Linked DNA regions of Homo sapiens: all the other regions are linked to region 1. The links are contacts of gene promoters, found by promoter capture Hi-C in blood cells and fetal thymus (Javierre and others, 2016). All regions are on one chromosome and are shown on one strand. Each heading gives the region's core, a stretch centred on a gene start or on the middle of the fragment in contact. The rest is flanking DNA. Distances are from core to core; before and after follow the strand shown.

Region 1 (2,702 bases), core at 135-2,634:
CCTGAAGCTGTATACAAGATAGTTGAAAGTACAGTTTCAACTACTGAAAATAGTTTGTATAAATCCGAACAGGAAGACATTTACTTAAGCCCAATGTGCGTTCACTTATCTATATATTACATAGTTACACCACACCTGAAACTTCAGGAACTTACTCTGCCAAGCTCACAGTACTGCCCCGCATTAACAACACACTTATTAAATAGGGAAGTGTATACACTGTTTTCAACAATCAACTTTAGCCAATCTGACCTTTTTCCAAAGCGTTATTGTTTGTTTTGAAACTTTTAATCCAATAAGAGCCTCTGTCGATGCCATCATGAATTCAGATGTGTTTATTTTGGAGCCTACACCAGCGCCTTTTTTGTTTGCTCTTTCCGGCAATTCCCCAGTGAGGAAGCCCCTGGAGGAAAGTCTTTCGCTACCGTCGGCACTGGAGGGGTGAGAGCTGTAAAAGGGAGAATTGGGAACGGCATGGGGTTGGCCACTCCAGCACTTGAGCAGCTTTCTTCTGCGTTAGGAAGCCTGGGGAGAGGGGAACTGGCTAAAGGGCAAAATGTCACTGAGGAACTTCGGAGAAGATGGGGACAAGGCGTCGGGCGGGGGAGCCAGCGCTCAGGTGAGAACTAGGAAGGGGGCGGCGCCCAGGGACCGGCTCCAGGCGGCGGCGGGCGGGGAGCTGCCAGGAGGTGGGTGTGCGTATCTGGGTGTGTCCCGGCTGCGGTGGGGGAGGGGGCCGCCCTTCCCGGGGTCCTGAGGGAGGGGCCCCGCGAGGGGGCGGGTCCGGCAGATCAGCCCGGCCGGGGGCCAAGGGGGTGGAAGGTCGCCCGGTGCCTGGAGGCGGGGTGAAGGAAAGTAGCTGAGCGCCCCAGGAGCGCGCTGCGGCGGAGGGCGGGCGAGGTGACCCCGGTGCAGGGAAGTGGCACTGGGGTGTGGGGCCCGAGTCCAGTCAAGGAGCAGCACCTACCTCCGGGGGTGGAAATGGGCCGGAATGGGCCGGAACACCGTCCCGGAAGTGAAATCCCCCACCCCCTCCCACGGAGCGGGCGACGTGCCGGAAGGAAATCACTCAGCCTTACACCGCCCCCCCTTCCCCCATCCCCAGAGCTTTCCTTGCCTCGCGCCCCCTCCCCTCTCTGCTCTTCCTCCTCAGTCGGGAGGAGGGCGGGAGCACGGCATCACGTGGACGGTCATGTCTCTGCCCACAATGGCGAGGAAGGGCGGGGAAAAGGGGCGGACTTAAGGGGTGGGAAGAAGGTGATACTGGATGAGAGGAAGATTGAGGGAGGTTAGGGGGAGGAGCCGAAGCGGACGCTGCCGGGAGCGTGCGTCGTGACGTCATCAAAAGAACTCTTATATACAGGAGCCCAGGCACCATACTGTCTTTTCGAGGTAGGAGTCGACTCCTGTGAGGTATGTTTTATCTTTGCGAATGTTGCGGGTTTTGGGGCGCTCCAGCCTTTGTCTGCTAAGGTCACCCTGAATTGACTGGGACTTCTAAGCCAGTCGCGCGCCTTTGCAGGGCCTACAAGTTGAGGATGGTGGGGGATTGCACATATGGTGCATGCGTGACCTAAGCTGCGACTATGTTAGAGTAGAACTGCGGAGAAGCCTCGGCTCTCGTGCCCTGCCTCTGATGAAGCCTGTGTTGGTAGGGACATCTGAGAGTAATGATGAATGCCAACCGCTCTGATGGTGGCACATGCCGAGTCACCCGAGTAAGCTATTGTTAAGGGCCGTGACCCGAGCCTCCATCAGCCGTCCGCTCTCATGAAAGGCTGTCGGTGGTAGTCCACGTGCTTAAGTGCCTGCATTCCGCAGTGTCACCAATATTTCCATTAGTGTTTCTTTTTTCTTTTTTGAGACCGAGCCTCGTTCTGTCACCCAGGCTGGAATGCAGTGGCTCGACATCGGTTAATGGCAACCTCCGCGTCCCGAGTTAAGCAGTTCTGCCTCAGCCTCCCAAGTAACTGGGACTACAGGCGCGCGCCACCATGCTAGGCTTTTATATTTTTAGTAGAGACGGGGTTTCACCATGTTGGCGAGACTGGTCTTGAACTCCTGACCTCAGGTGATCCACCAGCCGTGGTCCCCCAACATACTGGGATTACAAGCCGTGAGCCACCGCGCCCGGCCGCCATCGGTGGTTCTTAACTGCGGGTGCAGTGCTTCTTTGTAACATTAAGTGTATCCTTTACCTGTCGCTAGATAATGAATGGTATGTTACCTGCATCATTGGTTTAAAAAGACGAACCGTTTTTTTAAAGAACACTCTTTAAAAAAAAGAACCGTGGAACAATGAATTAAAATCTGTACCTGATCTCTTTAGGTATGGTGCTGGGTGCAGATGCAGTGTGGCTCTGGATAGCACCTTATGGACAGGTAAGAATTGGGGAAAGTATGGTGGGAAGAATGAAATCTAAGAGGTGGTCTCAGCCTGTGATGCTTTAAGAGTAGTGGACAGAAGGGATTTCTGAAATTCTATTCTGAGGCTTTAATGTTAACAGCATTTATATTTAACGTGACTGCTGTGAGGTTCATTCTCACTGTTTTGCTTGCATCTTTTTGTTTTCTAGTTGTGTCCCCAAGGAAGGATGAGAATAGCTACTGAAGTAAGTTGAAAATTCCCTCTCAAAAAGGTTTAAAGCCATTGGATGTGCCACAATGATGACAGTTTATTTGCTACTCTTGAGTGCTAGAAT
Region 2 (2,776 bases), core at 188-2,687, 1.1 Mb after region 1:
AAAATAAGCAAAAAAAAAAAGAAAGAAAGAAAGAAAGAGAAATCTAACAAAATGGCAATAGGAAGTTCTTACCTACTGATAATTACCTTGAAAGTAAATAGATTAAATTCTCTAAGCAAAATAAATAGAGTGGTTGAATGGGGTGGTTTTGTTTGTCTGTTTGTTTGTTTTTGAAATGGAGTCTCGCTCTGTCACCCAGGCAGGAGGGCAGTGGCACAGTCTCAGCTCACTGCAACCTCTCCCTCCCAGGTTCAAGTGATTCTCCTGCCTCAGCCTCCCAAGTAGCTGGGACTACAGGTGCACACTACCACACCTGGCTAATATTTTGTATTTTTAGTAGAGACACATTTCCCCATGTTGGCCAGGCTGGTCTCAAACTCCTGACCTCAAGTGATCTGCCTGTCTCAGCTTCTCAAAGTGCTGAGATTACAGGGATGAGCCACCACACCTAGCCCTGAATGGATTTTTTTAAACCCTAACTATATGCTCTTTATAAGATACTTACTTCAGCTTCTAGGACATGTATAGACTGAAAGTGAAGGGATAGAAAAAGACATTCCATGAAAATGGAAAGGAAAAGATAGCAAATGTAGCTATACTTACGTCAAAATAGACTTTAAGTCAAAACTGTAAAAAGAAACAAAGAAGGCAATTTTTAATGACAAAGGAATCAATATATTAAGAAGATATAACAATTATAAATATATATGCAGGCGACATCAGAGTGCCTAAATACATAAAACACATACTAATAGATCTGAAGGGAGGAATAGACAGTAAAACAATAATAGTGGAGGACTTCAATACCTCACTTTCAACAATTAATAGATCATTCATACAATCAATGAGGAAATATTGGACTTAAACTACACTTTAGACCAAATGGACCTAACAGATGTATACAAAACACTCTCTCCAACAGAAGCATGTACACATTTGTCTTGAGTGCACATGAAACATTCTCTGGGATAGATCATATGTTAGGCCACAAAAGAAGTATTTAAATATGTTAGAAAATTGTAATCATACCAAGTATCTTCTCTGATCACAATGGTATGAAAATAGAAATTAATAACAGGAAAATTCAAAAATATGTGGAAGTTAAATAATGTGTTCCTGAACAGTTAATGGGTAAAGAAAAGAAATCAAAGGGGAAATTTTAAAATATCTTGAGACAAACAAAAATGGAAACAAACATACTAAAACTTAAGGGATGTAGCAAAAGCAGTTATAAGAGGGAAGTTCACGGTAGTTAATGCCTACATTAAAAAGAAAGAACTCAAGTAAACAACTTAATGTTACACTTCAAGGAACTAGAAAGAGAAGAACAAACTAAGCCCAAAGTTGATAGAAGAAAGATCCAAGCAGAAATAAGTGAAACAGAGACTAGAAAGCAATATAAAAGATCAATGAAACCAAAAGGTTTTTTTGAGAAGATTTTTAAAATTCAGCTACACTAAGAAAAAAAGAAAGAAAACTCAAATAAAATCAGTAATGAAAGAAGAGACGTTATGACAAATACCACAGAAATACAAAGGATTGTAAGAGACTACAAGAAACAATTATACACCAAAAAACTGAACAGTCTATAAGAAATGGATAAATCCTAAATATGTATGTGTATATATATATATATATATATATATATATATATATATATATATATATACATAAAACTTATCAAGTCTGAAACAAAAAGAAATAGAAAATCTGAACATACCAATAATGAGTAATAAGATTAAATCAGGAATCAAAAATCTCCCATCAAATTAAAGCCCAATAATAGATGGCCTCACTGGTGAATTCTATTAAGCATTGAAAGAGGAATGAATACCAATCATTCTCACTCTCCCAAAAAAATCGAAGAGGAGGGAAAACTTACAAAGGGATTTTTATGAGGCTAGTACTATCCTGATGCTAAAGTCAGACAAAGACACTACAAGAAAAGATTACAGGTCAATATTCCTGATGAACGTAAATGCAAAAATCCTCTGACAAAACAGCTACAAATTGAATTAAACAGCACATTAAAAGAATCCTACACTATAATCAAATGAGATTTATCCCTATGATGCAAGGATGGTTCAACAAATGTAAATCACTAAATGTGATGCACCACATTAACAGAATGAAGGATTACAATTGTATGATCATCTCAATAGATGCAGAAAAAGCATTTGAAAAAAAAATCAGTATGCTTCTATGACAAAAACTCCCAACAAATTGCGTTTAGCAATAATGTACTTCCACACGATAAGGTCATATATCACAAGCCTACAGCTAACATTCTATTCAATAGTGAAAAGTTGGAAGCCTTTCCTCTAGGATCAGGAACAAGATAAGGATACCAACTCCCACCACTTATATTCAACATTGTACTGGAAGTCCTAGGCAGAGAAATTATGAAAGAAAAAGAAATAAAAGCCATCTAAATCAGAAAAGAAGAAGTAAAATTGTCTCTCTTTGCAGATGACGTGGCCATATATAGAAAACTTTAAAGACTCCAAACACAAAAAAACTGTTAGAACTAACAAGTGAATTCACTAAAGTTACAAAACAGAAAATCGACATACAAAAATAAGTTGCATTTTTATACATTAACAATTAACTATTCAAAAAAGAAATTAAGAAAACAATTCAATTTACTATAGCATCAAAAAGAAGAAAATACTTAGGAATAAATTTAACCAGGGAGATGAAAGATCTGTATACTGAAAACTTTAAAACATTAATGAAAGGAGTGGAAGAAAAAGAAACCACAAATAAATGGAAAGAT
Region 3 (3,017 bases), core at 30-2,529, 1.3 Mb after region 1:
GTGAGTAATAGTTATATAAAATAAAACTAGTATAGATGAATGTCACCATACTTAAAAGTATAACATATGCCAAAAATGGCAAGAAAGAATATAGAAAAAGAGCATGTATAATGTATAATCTTTCATATATAATATTTAATTATATATATAATCTTTTAAGGCTTAGGCTAAGTAACCACTATCAACCACCCCTTAACTATAATACAGTAATTCTCAACCTGGGGCAGACTTCCCCCCAGGGTGAGATTGGCATTGTGTGAACACATTTTTTGCTTGTCACATTGGAGAAGTACTACTGGCATCTAGTGAGTAGAGGCCAGGGATGCTGTTTCACATCCTACGGTGCACAAGAAAGCCCTCCACAACAAAAATTATTTGGCCAAAAAGTCAAAAGTGCCAAGGTTGAGAAACCCTGCTGTAACAGAATCTCCCAATTCAATAAAATCTATAAAGCACTGACCACACACAGGATAACTCGTTTGCCCTGCAGATCCTTGGATTATTCAGCAAGTCACTAGGGCCTAAACTGCACAATGAACATGAGTTCTCCCATTCCTAAAAGGGTGACTAAACCAGAAACTCTGGGCAGCTCAAGTCCCTGCCTTGATAAAGATCAGATACTCTGTTTGCTTATGGTAAAAGAGAACAAGCAGACCTTAGAAAAGGAACCAACCCCTTCTGGCTATCTCGTTTGTTCTTTATCTCATATACAAATCATATTTAAGACACCCAAGAGAACTGTGTTGTCTAAGATGGTGGTATTTCATGAGCAAGCTTTTATGTATTTTGATTTAGTTGAAAAATTACCTGCTCCTTTCAATATTACAAAATGCTGAGATCCTATATGTCTCCAAAGGATCTTAGAGACCAATGACATTTAGATGCTTCCAGAGTAAAAGTCAGTTAAAACAGAAGTTTCCTGGAAATCAGTCAAAGAAAGGTTGGGGAATGGAAAACAGACAAATGGACAATAAAAGAGACTAAATAAGATGGAAAAATGGTGAATGTGGCAATCAGCACTTAACATTTTAACCGCATAAAAAGTATAAACAGAACTTTTAAAACTGTCCCCCCGATCATCTTCTTTATATATATAAATATGTGTGTAGAATAGCATATACCTTCTTTATTTAGTTACTACCTACCTGAAAAGAGCCTTAACTACTTAGCCTAATCTACCTTAACAGAGCACTGGTAATTTGGCCACTTCAGGAGGTAAAGGTAGAAATCAGAAGAAGACATAGATTGCTTTATTAGTACAGTCTGAGAACTCAGTCTCTTGAGGGCGGGAAGATCTGAGGGCGGGAAGATCACAGAGTGCAATGTTGGCATGCACGGTTCTGTTTTTACTGCAAATAACAAAAGGTAAGATTTCCCTTTTTAAAAATTCTACTTTGTGATCCCAAATTCAGTCTTCTATCACTGCGTTAACATATGTTTATTTTGAAGATACATGAATTGAATAGGCTCATAATGGAATCAACTAGAGGAAGGGAATGATTACATGTGGGTGACAGAGAAGGAGACATCAAAGATGGTCCAATTTCTAAGAACGTATGTGCCATTATATGAGTAGGAAAGTCAGGAGTTGCAGATTTACAATTTAAGAGACTAGTATGGTTTTGGAAGCACAGTATTGAGGTTCTGGTGGAAGTATCTAGCAAGAATTTACAAGTACAAGATTCAAAATAGGGAGAGAAAGTAGCAACTGAAGCAGCATGTTGGGGATTGTAACTGATGCGTCCTTTAGTACCTCCTGTATAACGCTCTCAGATGAAGCTTCCTAAAACATTATCTTCATCATGTCCTTTCTTTGATGCAAAAATCTCCTACAGGTCTGACGTATTTGTGAAATAAAGTCCTGCCTCCTTGGCCTGGCATTCAAAGCTTTCCATAATCAAACCCAGTTGATGTAGTTCAAGCTTTATTTCCCACTGTTTTCTTTCATAACTCAACCTTCTCACCAGACCACACTGTTTATTATGACCTGAAACACCTGTGCCTGCCCTCATGACACTGTTTTTATTTAATAGTCATTTGTCTCCCCAAGCAGTGAATAAATTCCTTATTGCAGAGAGGTCATGTGTTTTATTGATATATATCACACAGTGACTTTTTTTATTACAGAGGCCCAAGAAATAATTTTTTACTTTTTACTTATTTCTTTGTCTAATCACCTTAAATTACAATTTGCCTTATAATTTAAATTCCTAGAAGTAGCAAGCCCTTAGGATGAGAACGTTTTATGCAGTTGACTAGTCTAGAGCACCTAGCCAACTATTTCTTTCTCTATAAATTACCAAATTAGCTTTTTAGCATAACATTATTTGACTTATGTCTGAATAGATTTTCCTAGGTTCTAGTTACCCTAAGTAACCTGGAGAAATAAAGTGTTCAGTAAATATTTATTGAGCCTTTTTTGTATTAAAGATGCTGAGACAGAAATTTGCTCCAGGAAAAGTTTAGCGTTCTAGCAGGGAGTCTTAATCTTCTGAACTGAACCCTTTTGGTAGTCTGGTAAAACCCTTTTCAGAATGTTTATAAAGGTATAAAATAAAACACATAGATTACCAAGGAAACTAATTGTAGGGAAATACAGTTATTAAAATATTACAAAGCAAATTTGTGATCTAATAAGGTGTGCTTTTTCATTAATGCATAAATAACAAGGTCTAACAGCAGGTCTCCTAATGTCAATAATTCCAAAATGGTGATGAGTATAAGAGACATTCCAAGATACCTACAATATGCATAATGTGATATGAAAACATCTGTGATTAATATTGGTGACAAAGTTGTAGATACAGCCAGTACTACCACAGTTTGTTACCTACATTCACAATAAAATCAAATTCTAAATTTCAGTAGAGGTTAGGAGAATGGAGATATAATTATTATTCCCTCCATGGACCTGTGAATTATATACATGGATCCCAACTAAGAAGTCCTGCAAAAGAGCAATGTTTTTTAAACTGTGGGGTCACAATTCATTAGAGAGTCAAGAAATGAATCTTGAG
Region 4 (2,700 bases), core at 112-2,611, 1.1 Mb after region 1:
ATGAGCCCAGCAGCATCCCGGTTAGAGGCCACACCAGCATCCTGGGTCCCACAATGAAGATGACATTGACCAGAGCCTCAACTGGTCAATGATGGACATGTAACTTGAGCAAGAAACAAACCTGTATATCCCACTTGGATTTGGGGGTCATTAGTTACCACAGCATTTTCAAAAGAAAATGTGTTGCAATTCAAGAAAATAATTTGTAAACTAAAAGATGTCTCATATTTGAATAACAAATTTTTTGAGCAATTCATTCTGGTTTACTAAAGAGAGATATAGTATAAAGATAATAGAGGAGTGGAATAAGAGCATCAAAATAAAAGAAATCTAAGGGAGAGAAGTAAGCAATTCATCTTGATTAATTTTATTTTATTTTTAATCAATAACCCCCAACATGGCAGCAATGCAAACCACATAGGCCAGCTGGTCAGAACAGTACCCACTGAGAGATGGACAGTTTTGTGGGAGGTGATTCCACTTTAGAAATTCAAGGTGTAGAGAACACAGCAGCATATCTGCTCTGTGCAGTATTGAGACATGGGTAGGAGCAAGAGGATACCCTTCCAGTATGTAATTAAAGCACTTGTGTGACTGTGGGCGTTAGATCAAACTTCCTACATAAACAGGATCTACATGTGAGAACACTTTCAAAGGTTGAATGTTGAGCTTTGCTAGAGACAGAGCAGCAGGTGGGCAGCCAGCCAACCAGTCACATGGGACTGAAACTGACGTTCTGAAGCCCATTAGGCTCCTCACAATGTTCTGCATTGGCTCAGCCCACTCAAATACAAACCCAAGTGAGGTGCTTCTCACCTGTGGGTTGCCCCTACGCAAACCCCAACTGTGCATCTGATCTAATCTGAAGAGACCTTTTATACAGAGAATAGACTTGGTCAAACACACCTCCCTCATGGGAAAATGGCATCTCTGCCCAAGAGCATGATTTTCCCTGGGGAACTACCAAATTATTTGTTCTCACTAAAAGGGTGGAATGATAGGATTGTTAAGAAAGCTGACTGCTTTTCCATCTGTTTATCAAGCCAACTGCCTGACTTAAGGTGTCTATGATTATACAATTAGGTAGCTGTAACCCAAGCCCCCTGGCCTATGCTGGGTAGCAACTAAAGTATCTTTGATCTCTTCAGCCTCTGAACTGTGTTGACATGGCTCCAAGGCTCCCAAGTCTCATCCTTTCTCTAGTAACCCAGTGTCTACTGCTCTGTTGAATGGATGCTGATGTCTGTCACTGTGGGTTCTATCCCTACAGCTGGTGTTCTTCTCAATAAAATGGTGACCACTTGGCTGTGGACCCCAACTCCCACCAGAAGTGAGAGACTAGCCCACAGTAGTTGCAAGCCTCACCAATATGATGCCTACATCCCCTGCCCTAGCTCTGAGTCAATACCCAAAGGAGGTTTAATGCTTTATCTCACAGCGTTCTTTATCAAAGAATCCGGGACATAGTCCCAAAGATTAGGCCAGAATGCATTAAAGTAACACCATACTAGGATCAACTCAAAACTGATCCCCCTAATTATAAGCCAGCATCCCAGCCACCACGACATTTTATATTAGTGGCACTCACTGCCCATCTCCCAAGACATCTCTCTTCCTATCCTGCAAGTCATTGTTCTCTATCTAAATAACTCTTTATTCGGTATCATCAGTTCCAGAATGTCTCTCTCTAGTTAGCCCAGGAGACCCTAATGCAAACAGTACCTGTGGTCTGTCCTCATATAGCAAGTTTCCTGAGGTGGGCATGCAAATTAAGCTCCTGGGCACCCCTAGGTAAAGCCTTCCTTTACAATGTACCAGCCCTGAGAATGAAGAGATGAAGAAAATGCTACCCAAGTCTTCAAGGAGCTCTAAGTCTAGTAAGCAGACAAGTCCATAAGCAGACAATTCCTTGAGAAAGCACAATGTTACCGATGACATAGATCATAGCACAGAGTAAGGACAATTTTGGTAAACCATAATTGTTGGAAAGAACCAAGGAATTCCCCAGCTGGGATCAGGGACAGCACCTTCTGTAGCCTTACAGTGGATTCTGTGGGATAGAGACGAATTGAACTTGTGGGAAAGGGGAAAACAGATTTATTCATTTGGGTATTTGGTTTTCCCTTCTGTCAGGTTGCCAGAATCATTACTTTCATGAATAATTTGCTGTCCTAATACAACTGTGCTTTCTGAATAGCTCACTAGAGAATGACAAATCTAACTTCCAAGGAAGAATCTTCATGAAAACAAACAAAAAAAAATGAGCTGAACCAATTACATCATGTCAGCATGCAAATACAGAACCTAGAACAATAAACTTATAATGATTGAAAGCAACGATTATATATTATGTTCATATTACGGAAACACAGTCAAAGTAGTTTAGTCCCCACAATGCCAACAGGTACTTTATTACAAAAAAACACCTAGGTTCTTCAAAAGTTTCCCAAAGTCAACTACAGAAACAAGAACAGAACCCCATTTTTATTAACACATATAATAAACCTAGGGAATACTAAAGGGTGAACTTGATCTCAAAACCGTTTATGTCTCTTCCTTTCTTCCTCCCACTTTCTGAGGACATAGGAGAAGTTATGGCAATAGGCGTGTTTAGGAGGACGTGGCTATGTATGGACTTGAGGAACCCGCCTGTCTTTTCTAAAGGCATCTGAAGACACCAGCATTTTCCTGAGCTGGGAG
Region 5 (2,700 bases), core at 39-2,538, 1.3 Mb after region 1:
GCACTGTCTCTGGCACTTAAAAGCAGAAATTATTACAACTAGAACTAGGATGCCGAGACCTGTTTAAAAGAGAGCAAACTGCAAATGTGCCCAATCATCCAGTTCAGTCCATCTCTGTCTTCACTTATCTAAACTCTTAAGTGATATCTGGTCAAATTCCACTAAAAGCTTTAAGGTCTATATACTATCATTTTTTTCCATGAGCCCTCTGGGAATCAAGCAGAAAAAGTGGCTAAAGTTAAGCAACCGAAAAAAGGTGAAAGTGAGTATAGATAATTCAAACTTGTTGCCAGCCTAATAAAAGTGTTTTGTCACTGGAAAGTACTTTTAAAATTAAAAACAAAAAATCAATTCATTAAGGCACTGATCAGCATTCAAGTAGCTTTCTTTCTCTCTCTTGCTAAAATTGCGCTTACCTCTATTATATCATGAGATAATTAAATCCTCTCCTGTAATCACAGGTCATACTCTATGCTGCTTAACTCACTGTGTGAAGCTGACTGTGCTAATTCATAATAAAGCTTACCTTTGGCTAAGCTCCTCCAGATAGCGACCACTGAGAGACATGTTAACTTCTAAGGCTTTAATACGATTATTAAGTCTCATAAATACTGACTCCTTTTGGTTTGATCCATGTACAAGATTTCCATTAGCATATCCTAGATCTGTAGAATTTTGCAATTCAGCATAAAAATCTGTAGCTGTCCTCTGTAACCCTCTCAAAAGGGCATCTTCTGGAGACTGTTCTTCTTCTTTTACTTCAGGTAATGAAGAAGAATCCACAACAGAAATCAAAGTTTGCTTTGCTGTGTCAGCTATATTCATTTTGGCTTCCCCATCTTCATTGTCGGGTACAGTGGCTGTATTTATTGGTGGCACTATTGTTTCAGACAGCTTTGTGAAAATTTGCATGGAGTTCACATCTTCTTTTATAATATTATCCATTAACTCATTAACTTTATTTGTTTCATAGGTAATAGATGGTTTCTCTATAGAACTAAAGCTCTCAGACTTTTGTTCTGTTTCATTATCGATCTCAACAGAACTCTCTTGGGGAATCACTGGTGATGGTATATGTCCTGCCTCATATTCAACAGACTCAGATACTTCTATTTTAGGCAAGGGATTGATTTCTGGGGTAATATCTAAAAGAAGAGACTGAGAAAGAGTTTGAGAATGGCTTGGTTCAAGTTCAACTGCATCTACAGTGTGATTCACCAAGTCATCCTGGTGCATACTACTACTTAAATCACCCAGAACAACAGTTTCAGCTTCCCTTTCTATATTCGTATTTTCCAATTCTCCACTCAGAGGTTGCAATACTGAAACATCTACTGATTCCGCAGGAAGTAGTAAGGGTGGTTGAGCTAACACAAGATAATCTTTTCCTTTACTCAAAGCAGTTCGGCTGCGCTGCCGATAAAGAGCAACTCTAACTGAACACCATTTATATATGTATTCTGAAAAACTAGAAATACAACAAATTGTGGTCAGTTCACTGCAAAATATTTGTGTCTCTGACTCAAACCAGGGTGATGATTCATCTTCCTGTTCACCGCTGCCCAGAAGGGTCACTGTAGATGGACTTGCCTCCTCTTCCTCCTCTTGAACTAACTGTACAATGGGACTCTCTTTTGGAGTATCTGGTGTTGACGGCTCCATGTCATGTGTGTGTACTTCAGTGGTTACATACCTAGAAATACATATATCATAATTATAAATCACTTACTTAGAAGTCTAAAGTTGAAATATGTTAAAGAAAAATAAATGTATCCATACAGAAGATAAAAGGTTGGAAATATAGAAGAAATTTGTTTTTGGATAAATGTTTCACCTACAAAACACTTTTATTATAAAAACAAATACTGCTCAGAAATGATAAGAGAAATACTATTTATCAAGTGACTAGCCAGATGACTCAAACCACCATATTTACCATATCAAACTTGCTTTCTTTTAATCTGTTTAAGAATTGTTTCTAAGTGAATACTTCCATTCACTGAATGTAGTGTTCCTTTCCTCTCATAAATATTCACTGAATCTTTACAAGCTTCACTATCCCTTACACATCAGAAATTAAGCCAACTAAGAGCTAGCTTAATAAACTAGCTTAAATAAGGTCCAGAGCTAAAACTAGAATCTAGGATTCTTAATATTTATGAGTGCACTTTGTACTTGAATACCCTATTTTCAAAAGGCAGCTAGGTTGGTCTCAAACATAATTTTTCTAAGAATGATTTGAGGAACTCCAATACAGCATTAAACACACAACGCACACACACACCTACACACATAGGATTATCTACTTTAAGGACAAGAAACATATCTCCCTTCCTAAAATAATTTTGCTATCATCTAGGCTAATCTTCTAAGCCAAATACCTAACCACTTTAATAACAATTCTGGCTTATGATATGCTAACAGTGCTGCTATTAAACTACTAGTGCCACTATTAATATTCTATCCCATTTTGAGGCTGTGGAGTATGTATGTGGCATACAGGAGAGTGGGGGGATGAAGCTTATGGGGACAGTGTTATAAATTATAATGCTTGTGATTCCTTCCAAGATAAAGATAGTTAATTACTGGGTGTAGCCTTATACATAAAAAGTCCAATATGAAAAAATATGGTAATTTCAATACCAAAAATAATTATGCTCAAACACACATTTTCCCATTCTGAAAAATTACTAAGCATGC
Region 6 (2,821 bases), core at 3-2,502, 1.1 Mb after region 1:
AGAGACTTCTTTCTGTGATTATACACACACAAATACACAAATATTCTTTTTATTTTTTAATTTTTAAAATTTTTAGACATTTAGGGGGTACAAGCACAGATTTCTTACATGTATATATTGCTTAGTGGTGATGTCTGTTCTTTTAGTGTACCCATGACCTGAATAGTGAACATTGTACCCAATGGGTAATTTTTCAACTCTTACCATGTCCCTCCCACTCTCCCATTTTGTTATCTCCAATGTCTATTTTTCCATTCTCTATGTCCATGACATACACATATATTGTTCTTAAATGAGACTGTGCTATGCATATTGGACTGAAATTGCTAAAAGCATCTCATACTCATGCTTTCAGGTCACTATTTATGGGTCACCATACCAAAGCTCCTGGGAGATTTCCCTGTTATTTCAGAGTCCTGAAAATGAATACTGCTATATATAAAAAAACACTTTCTATAAGACTTCCTTAATCCTTTTCAGGAAGAGTAAAGTATCTCTTCAACTGTTTTCCTAAAACATGTGTGTTGCTTATATATTCACTGTATCCCTAATTACATTCTTTTAGTATAGGTGCCAGTTACTGGTAACAACAAAAAAATCAACCTCTGCCAGAATATTTAAAGAGGTTTATTCTGAGCCAATATGAGTGACTATGGCCTGGGGAAACTGTCTCAAGAGGTCCCGAGAAAGTGTGCCCAAGGCAGTTGGGTTAACGTTTGGGAGGGAGACAGAAATTGCATGTCAAAACATAAACGAATACATGGGAGTTGTACATTGAGTCTATTCAAAAAGGCAGGACATCTGGCAGTGAGAGCTTACAAGACACAGGTGAGTTTAGGGATTATTTAGTTGGCAATTGGTTGAAAGAGTTGAGCTTTGTCTAAAAACTTGGAGTCAGTAGAAAGGAATGCTTCAGTTAAGACAAGGGGGTCTGTTTTCTGTTACATGATGCCATACCAGAGTCTGGTTGCAAAAGTAAGCCACAATATACTGGGTCAAAAAAACTTGTTTAACATAATTTTATGTCTTGTAGATTTGACTCCCTGTGGGCCCTTAAAAAGAAATCTGAGAAAGTAAAAATGTCAGAGTTCAGTCCTTACCTGTTTTTTTCCACTAGACTGCAAAGTTCTTACTGAAAAAGGCCTTCCCTACTCTTGACACCTGGACTTCCAAGGGTCTGGAATAAGGCCAATCAAGCCACAATATCTGAAAGAACATGCGATGGGAAGTCAGATCTGAGATTTACGCTCTACCCTGCTAATAATTTGCACCTCATGTGGAGAAGTTCCAGCCCACCTGGATTGTCGCTTCTTCGTTTTTAAAATCTGTTTACATTCAAGGACTGGGATAAACTAGATGTCCTTTAAGGCCACTTCAAACTTTAACATGCGAAACACAAAACTGATGTCTGCAACATGGAATAGTAATAGCTAAAGAGAAAAATGCTTACTATCAAAATATTATTGTTGTCTGACACTAAAATACATATTTTGTGTATGAGACAGGGTCTTGCTGTGTTGCCCAGGCTAGAGTGCAGTGGCACGATCTCTGCTCGCTGCAGCCTCAACCTTCCAGGCTCAAGTGATCCTCCTGCCTCAGCCTCCTGAAGAGCTGGGACTACAGGAATGCACCACCATGCCTGGATAATTTTTGTATTTTTTATAGAGACAGTGCTTTGCCATATTGCCTAGACTGATCTCAAACTCCTGGGCTCAAGCAATCTGCCTGCCTTGGCCTTCCAAAGTGCTAGGATTACAGGTGTGTGCCACTGTGCCCTGCCTGTAAAATACACATTTTAGTCAGTAAAAGTTAGTTACATGTAACTATTCTTATTTGTATGTGAATAACTCTTAAATTCCCATCAGCAACATAGTTAGAAATTATTCCTTAGAGTAGGATATTTTACAGATGGCTTTGTGGCAGGCCAATTCTCCCTGACAATCACACAGACAGGCCTGCATGACAGTCACACAGACAGGCCTACATAGCACTCCAGTTACACAGACAAATTTCCATAGCACTGTCTTACCATTGAGCAAATAGTCAAACCTAGGGAAATCAATGCCCAGACATCAAAACTAGAAATGAAACATATGGTCAGTAGGAACCTTGCATGGGCTTCTCCCTAACCTGGAGCAAACCAAAATAATAGAGACAGTCTTACATTCCTACTGCCAGGACCCATCTTGCATTGACAAAATCTGAGACAAGTCAAGGTAACAGAGGCAGCTGTTTGAATAGATTCATCGGAGAGTCTAAGGCAGCTCTCCGGACCAAGCTGTAAAGGAGATGAGATAGAAATAATCACTCTGGTACCGCAGTAGACAGGCCTTGAAGGTACTGGGGCCCTTTTAATTGGACTTAGCAAGCAATTTTTGCCTCTGACCTTCTAGTTGAAACAGAATCAGTTACCAATAGACTTAGGCGAATGCTATACTGCACATAGGCACATAGCCCCAACCTATATAAGCGCTAAGAAAATTGTAACACTTTGAGTTGGTGGAATTACCTCCGGCCTTCTCTGTGTATCTGGTTACAGTGATAAATTCCCTTCTTTCCTAGTTTGTCTGCTTCTCATTATTGGGACTGGAGAAAACGCAGTCGGACCTGGCTTGGTTCCGGGAATAGCTTGGCAAACAAAATGTACTAATAATTGATTGATTTTCATTATTTTGTTTTTTAAAAGGCAACTTTTCGTGACCCCACATTCCAATTCCAGGGGTTTCTCTATACTGCCTAATTATTCTACAATCACCTAAAAGTATTACTACTATTACTAAAACTATTACTAGTATTAATTTTTATAATAATAAAGATAATA
Region 7 (2,904 bases), core at 383-2,882, 1.1 Mb before region 1:
ACACCGTAACTATAGTCAATAGTACTGTATTGTGTACTTGAAATTGGTAAGAGAGTAGATCTGAAGTGTTCTTACCACACATACACAAACGGTAATTTTGTGAGGTGAAGGATGCATTCATTAACTTCATTGTGGTAATCATTTCACAATGTATATGTTTAGCAAATCATGACATTGTATGCCTTAAATATATGCAATTTTTATTTGTCAACTATACATTAATACAGCTGGGGGTGTGTTGTTTGAGTACCTTTATGAAGATACCCAGAAGACATGTCTCTGGTATGACTAGCAGCAATAACTGTGCAGAGTCTGTGAATCATGTAAACTGATCATGGTTCTCTGCTGCCTGCCAAGTAGCTTACAAGTCAAATTTATGTCCCAGTTCTAATTTCACAGCATGCACTTTTGTGTCCTGAGGCTTTTATCTTTCCTACTCTCATTTCTCTTTGCCCCAGTTTCCTCATTTGTAAACTGCCTTAAATCTTTCGGGGAACAAGAAGGAAGGGGTATGTATCAATCAATCAATCCATAATTTCTAGCCATTCTTTAAGGTCCACCTCCATGAAACTTGGCTTCAATCTTCTTGCCCAGTCATTTCTCCTCTCCAGTTCCTTGTATAGCATTTATTGTTTACTACTCAATGGCTCAATCATGGTTTTTTTTTGTTTTTTTTTTTTTGAGATGGGGTTTTGCTCTTGTTGCCCAGGCTGGAGTGCAGTGGCACAATCTGGGCTCACCACATCTGCCTCCTGGGTTCAAGCGATTCTGCTGCCTTAGCCTCCCGGCCAGATGGGATTACAGGCATGTGCCACCACACCCAGCTAATTTTGTATTTTTAGTAGAGATGGGGTTTCCCTATGTTGGTCAGGCTGGTCGCGAACTCTTGACCTCAGATGATCCGCCTGCCTCGGCGTCCCAAAGTGCTGGGATTATAGGCGTGAGCCACTGTGCCTGGCAATCATGTTGTTTTATGTAATTCTGTTAGTTCATAATGGTAACACATGCATAAGCTTTTGTTAATTTTTGGCTTTTATATACTTTCATTTAATTTGTGTTATTTTAATGTGTTATTTTGCTTGCACCGCAGTCTAGCACAGGGTCCATCTACTTGTTAGCACACTTATCAGATTAAAGTGAATATTATGAACACTCACACTCTTGAACACATACATAAGAAGAAATCTCTACTGACAAAACCTGAGCCCTAGCTACTGCTGTAATCCCTACTTTTCTCCCCTCAACCACTTTGCCCTTACCTGATTCATCCTCTACCTTGCAAATGATTTTTTTTAAATATAAACCTCATCTGATCTCTCCCCTTTACTTCTCTAGCTGTCAGAATCTTTACCATAGACATCAGGGCTCCATGTGATACTCTCCTTCCTCCTTCTCTAGTCTTATCTCAAGCCACATTCCCTCCTATTTGATCATCATTCCAGAGGTTTCACTTTCGTGATTCAAAAAACATGAGGCGGCAACAGAAATACATTCACATACTTTACAAATGAGTTAAACAAGAGTATGTAGCTGCACTATTTATATTCGCCCAAATCGTAAGATGACCATCAAATGTAGGATGGATAAATGAATTATGGTACTCATGCAATGAACATTACCTGCCAGTGGCCAGGCGCTGTGGCTCACACCTGTAATCCTAGCACTTTGGGAGGCAGAGATGGGCGGATTGCCAGAGCTCAGGAGTTTGAGACCAGCCTGGGCAACGTGGTGAAACCCCGTTTCTACTAATAATACAAAAAATTAGCTGAGTGTGGTAGTGCACACCTGTAATCTCAGCTACTCGGGAGGCTGAGGCAGGAGAATCACTTGAACCCAGGAGGCGGAGGTTGCAGTGAGCTGAGATTGTGACATTGCACAATCTAACACCCACAGCCTGGGTGACAGAGCGAGACTCTGTCTCAAAAAAAAAAAAAAAAGAAAAGAAAATTACCTGCAAGTGAGAAGGAGCAAAATACATGTGCAACAATGTAATGTGATCTGTGTAATAATGTGATTTCCCTTAGGATGTGGCTGATGAAGAAATTGCTGCCCTCCCCCGGGATAGCTGTCCTGTTAGAATCAGAAATCGGTGTGTTATGACGTCCCGTCCGCGTGGTGTGAAGCGGCGCTGGAGGCTTAGTCGTATAGTCTTCCGTCACTTAGCTGACCATGGGCAACTTTCTGGGATCCAGCGAGCGACATGGTAAATGAGCTCCAGAACCTATTGAGCTTGCAGGGAAGCCAAGCTTGCAGTTCCAGCAAGCAAAGATTTTTTTTAATAGACCAAACCCTAATCTCTACAGGGGCCCAGTACAGTTGTTTGGCCTACCTGATGCTATCTCTAAACTACTTTTAAAATGAAGACATTTGGGTGTTTCATGTCAGTGAATTATCTTTTCTCTTGGACTTAACAAACATACTGTTCCCATACATAGTACAAAGAGTAGCATAATAAATATTTTCTGTGAATGTTTTTTATACCCTCCTTTTAAGTTTAATCTTTTAGTAACATATAGGGGTTTTTGTATTAAGAGCATTATTTCATAAAATGCTATCTTATACATAATCCAACTAATTGACATGTAGCTCATGTATGGCAGTTTGTAATCCTGGACTAGCTTTGCTGACCTGCAGAGCTCCCCTTAACTATTATTGTTAGATAAACAGATTGGATAGCAAGGCTGCTGTTCTGGATTATCTAATGCTCCACTTCTTCTTGTGATGGCTGAACAAAAGAACCACTAAGTGTTTTCTTGTCCATCCTTAAGGGACTTTAAAACAAATTATGCCTCTTTAAGTCCTTGAAAGTCTCCATCTAAAGAGGAAAAGTTTGTTGGAACAGTATATATTCCCTATTTTTATGTTTATTTAATCCATAACAGAAATGAGTAAGGGTAGCACAAA

Evidence for each region. Contacts are between HindIII fragments. The CHiCAGO score rates a contact against its expected background, and 5 or more counts as called.
Region 2: a fragment that was not itself captured here is called in contact with the fragment with the promoter of GAS5 in region 1 in 2 of 17 cell types (monocytes and total B cells); the score reaches 7.6 in monocytes.
Region 3: a contact is called between a fragment that was not itself captured here and the fragment with the promoter of GAS5 in region 1, in 5 of 17 cell types (activated CD4 T cells, total CD8 T cells, non-activated CD4 T cells and 2 more). The highest score is 6.4, in activated CD4 T cells.
Region 4: a fragment that was not itself captured here is called in contact with the fragment with the promoter of GAS5 in region 1 in 1 of 17 cell types (naive CD4 T cells); the score reaches 6.5 in naive CD4 T cells.
Region 5: a fragment that was not itself captured here is called in contact with the fragment with the promoter of GAS5 in region 1 in 1 of 17 cell types (monocytes); the score reaches 5.1 in monocytes.
Region 6: a contact is called between a fragment that was not itself captured here and the fragment with the promoter of GAS5 in region 1, in 5 of 17 cell types (naive B cells, monocytes, total B cells and 2 more). The highest score is 7.3, in naive B cells.
Region 7: a fragment that was not itself captured here is called in contact with the fragment with the promoter of GAS5 in region 1 in 1 of 17 cell types (neutrophils); the score reaches 7.8 in neutrophils.

The regions. Positions count from the first base shown.
Region 1 is chr1:173,866,671-173,869,372 of GRCh38, reverse strand. It overlaps GAS5 (growth arrest specific 5), which reads left to right and starts at 1,384. Exons shown (of 12, transcript NR_002578.4): 1 at 1,384-1,413; 2 at 2,330-2,382; 3 at 2,577-2,612. It overlaps ZBTB37 (zinc finger and BTB domain containing 37), which reads right to left and starts at 993. Exons shown (of 5, transcript NM_001122770.3): 1 at 968-993; 2 at 253-448. SNORD75 (small nucleolar RNA, C/D box 75) reads left to right here and starts at 2,435; the gene lies at 2,435-2,494. SNORD74 (small nucleolar RNA, C/D box 74) reads left to right here and starts at 1,628; the gene lies at 1,628-1,699. It also overlaps SNORD76. RefSeq lists an enhancer at 1-914 and a silencer at 549-958. The HindIII fragment of the contact is 5,638 bases long and covers 1-2,702 here.
Region 2 is chr1:172,738,064-172,740,839 of GRCh38, reverse strand. No RefSeq gene overlaps it. Among named protein-coding and RNA genes, the nearest start is that of FASLG, 80 kb to the right of the region's middle. The HindIII fragment of the contact is 5,998 bases long and covers 1-2,776 here.
Region 3 is chr1:172,527,800-172,530,816 of GRCh38, reverse strand. No RefSeq gene overlaps it. Among named protein-coding and RNA genes, the nearest start is that of SUCO, 3.8 kb to the left of the region's middle. The HindIII fragment of the contact is 1,005 bases long and covers 777-1,781 here.
Region 4 is chr1:172,762,600-172,765,299 of GRCh38, reverse strand. No RefSeq gene overlaps it. Among named protein-coding and RNA genes, the nearest start is that of FASLG, 100 kb to the right of the region's middle. The HindIII fragment of the contact is 2,855 bases long and covers 1-2,700 here.
Region 5 is chr1:172,587,753-172,590,452 of GRCh38, reverse strand. It overlaps SUCO (SUN domain containing ossification factor), which reads right to left. Exons shown (of 24, transcript NM_014283.5): 18 at 527-1,693. Among named protein-coding and RNA genes, the nearest start is that of SUCO, 56 kb to the right of the region's middle. The HindIII fragment of the contact is 1,529 bases long and covers 524-2,052 here.
Region 6 is chr1:172,721,550-172,724,370 of GRCh38, reverse strand. No RefSeq gene overlaps it. Among named protein-coding and RNA genes, the nearest start is that of FASLG, 64 kb to the right of the region's middle. The HindIII fragment of the contact is 6,552 bases long and covers 1-2,821 here.
Region 7 is chr1:175,013,972-175,016,875 of GRCh38, reverse strand. It overlaps MRPS14 (mitochondrial ribosomal protein S14), which reads left to right. Exons shown (of 3, transcript NM_022100.3): 3 at 2,025-2,904. The coding sequence ends at 2,207. Among named protein-coding and RNA genes, the nearest start is that of MRPS14, 8.0 kb to the left of the region's middle. The HindIII fragment of the contact is 1,233 bases long and covers 1,016-2,248 here.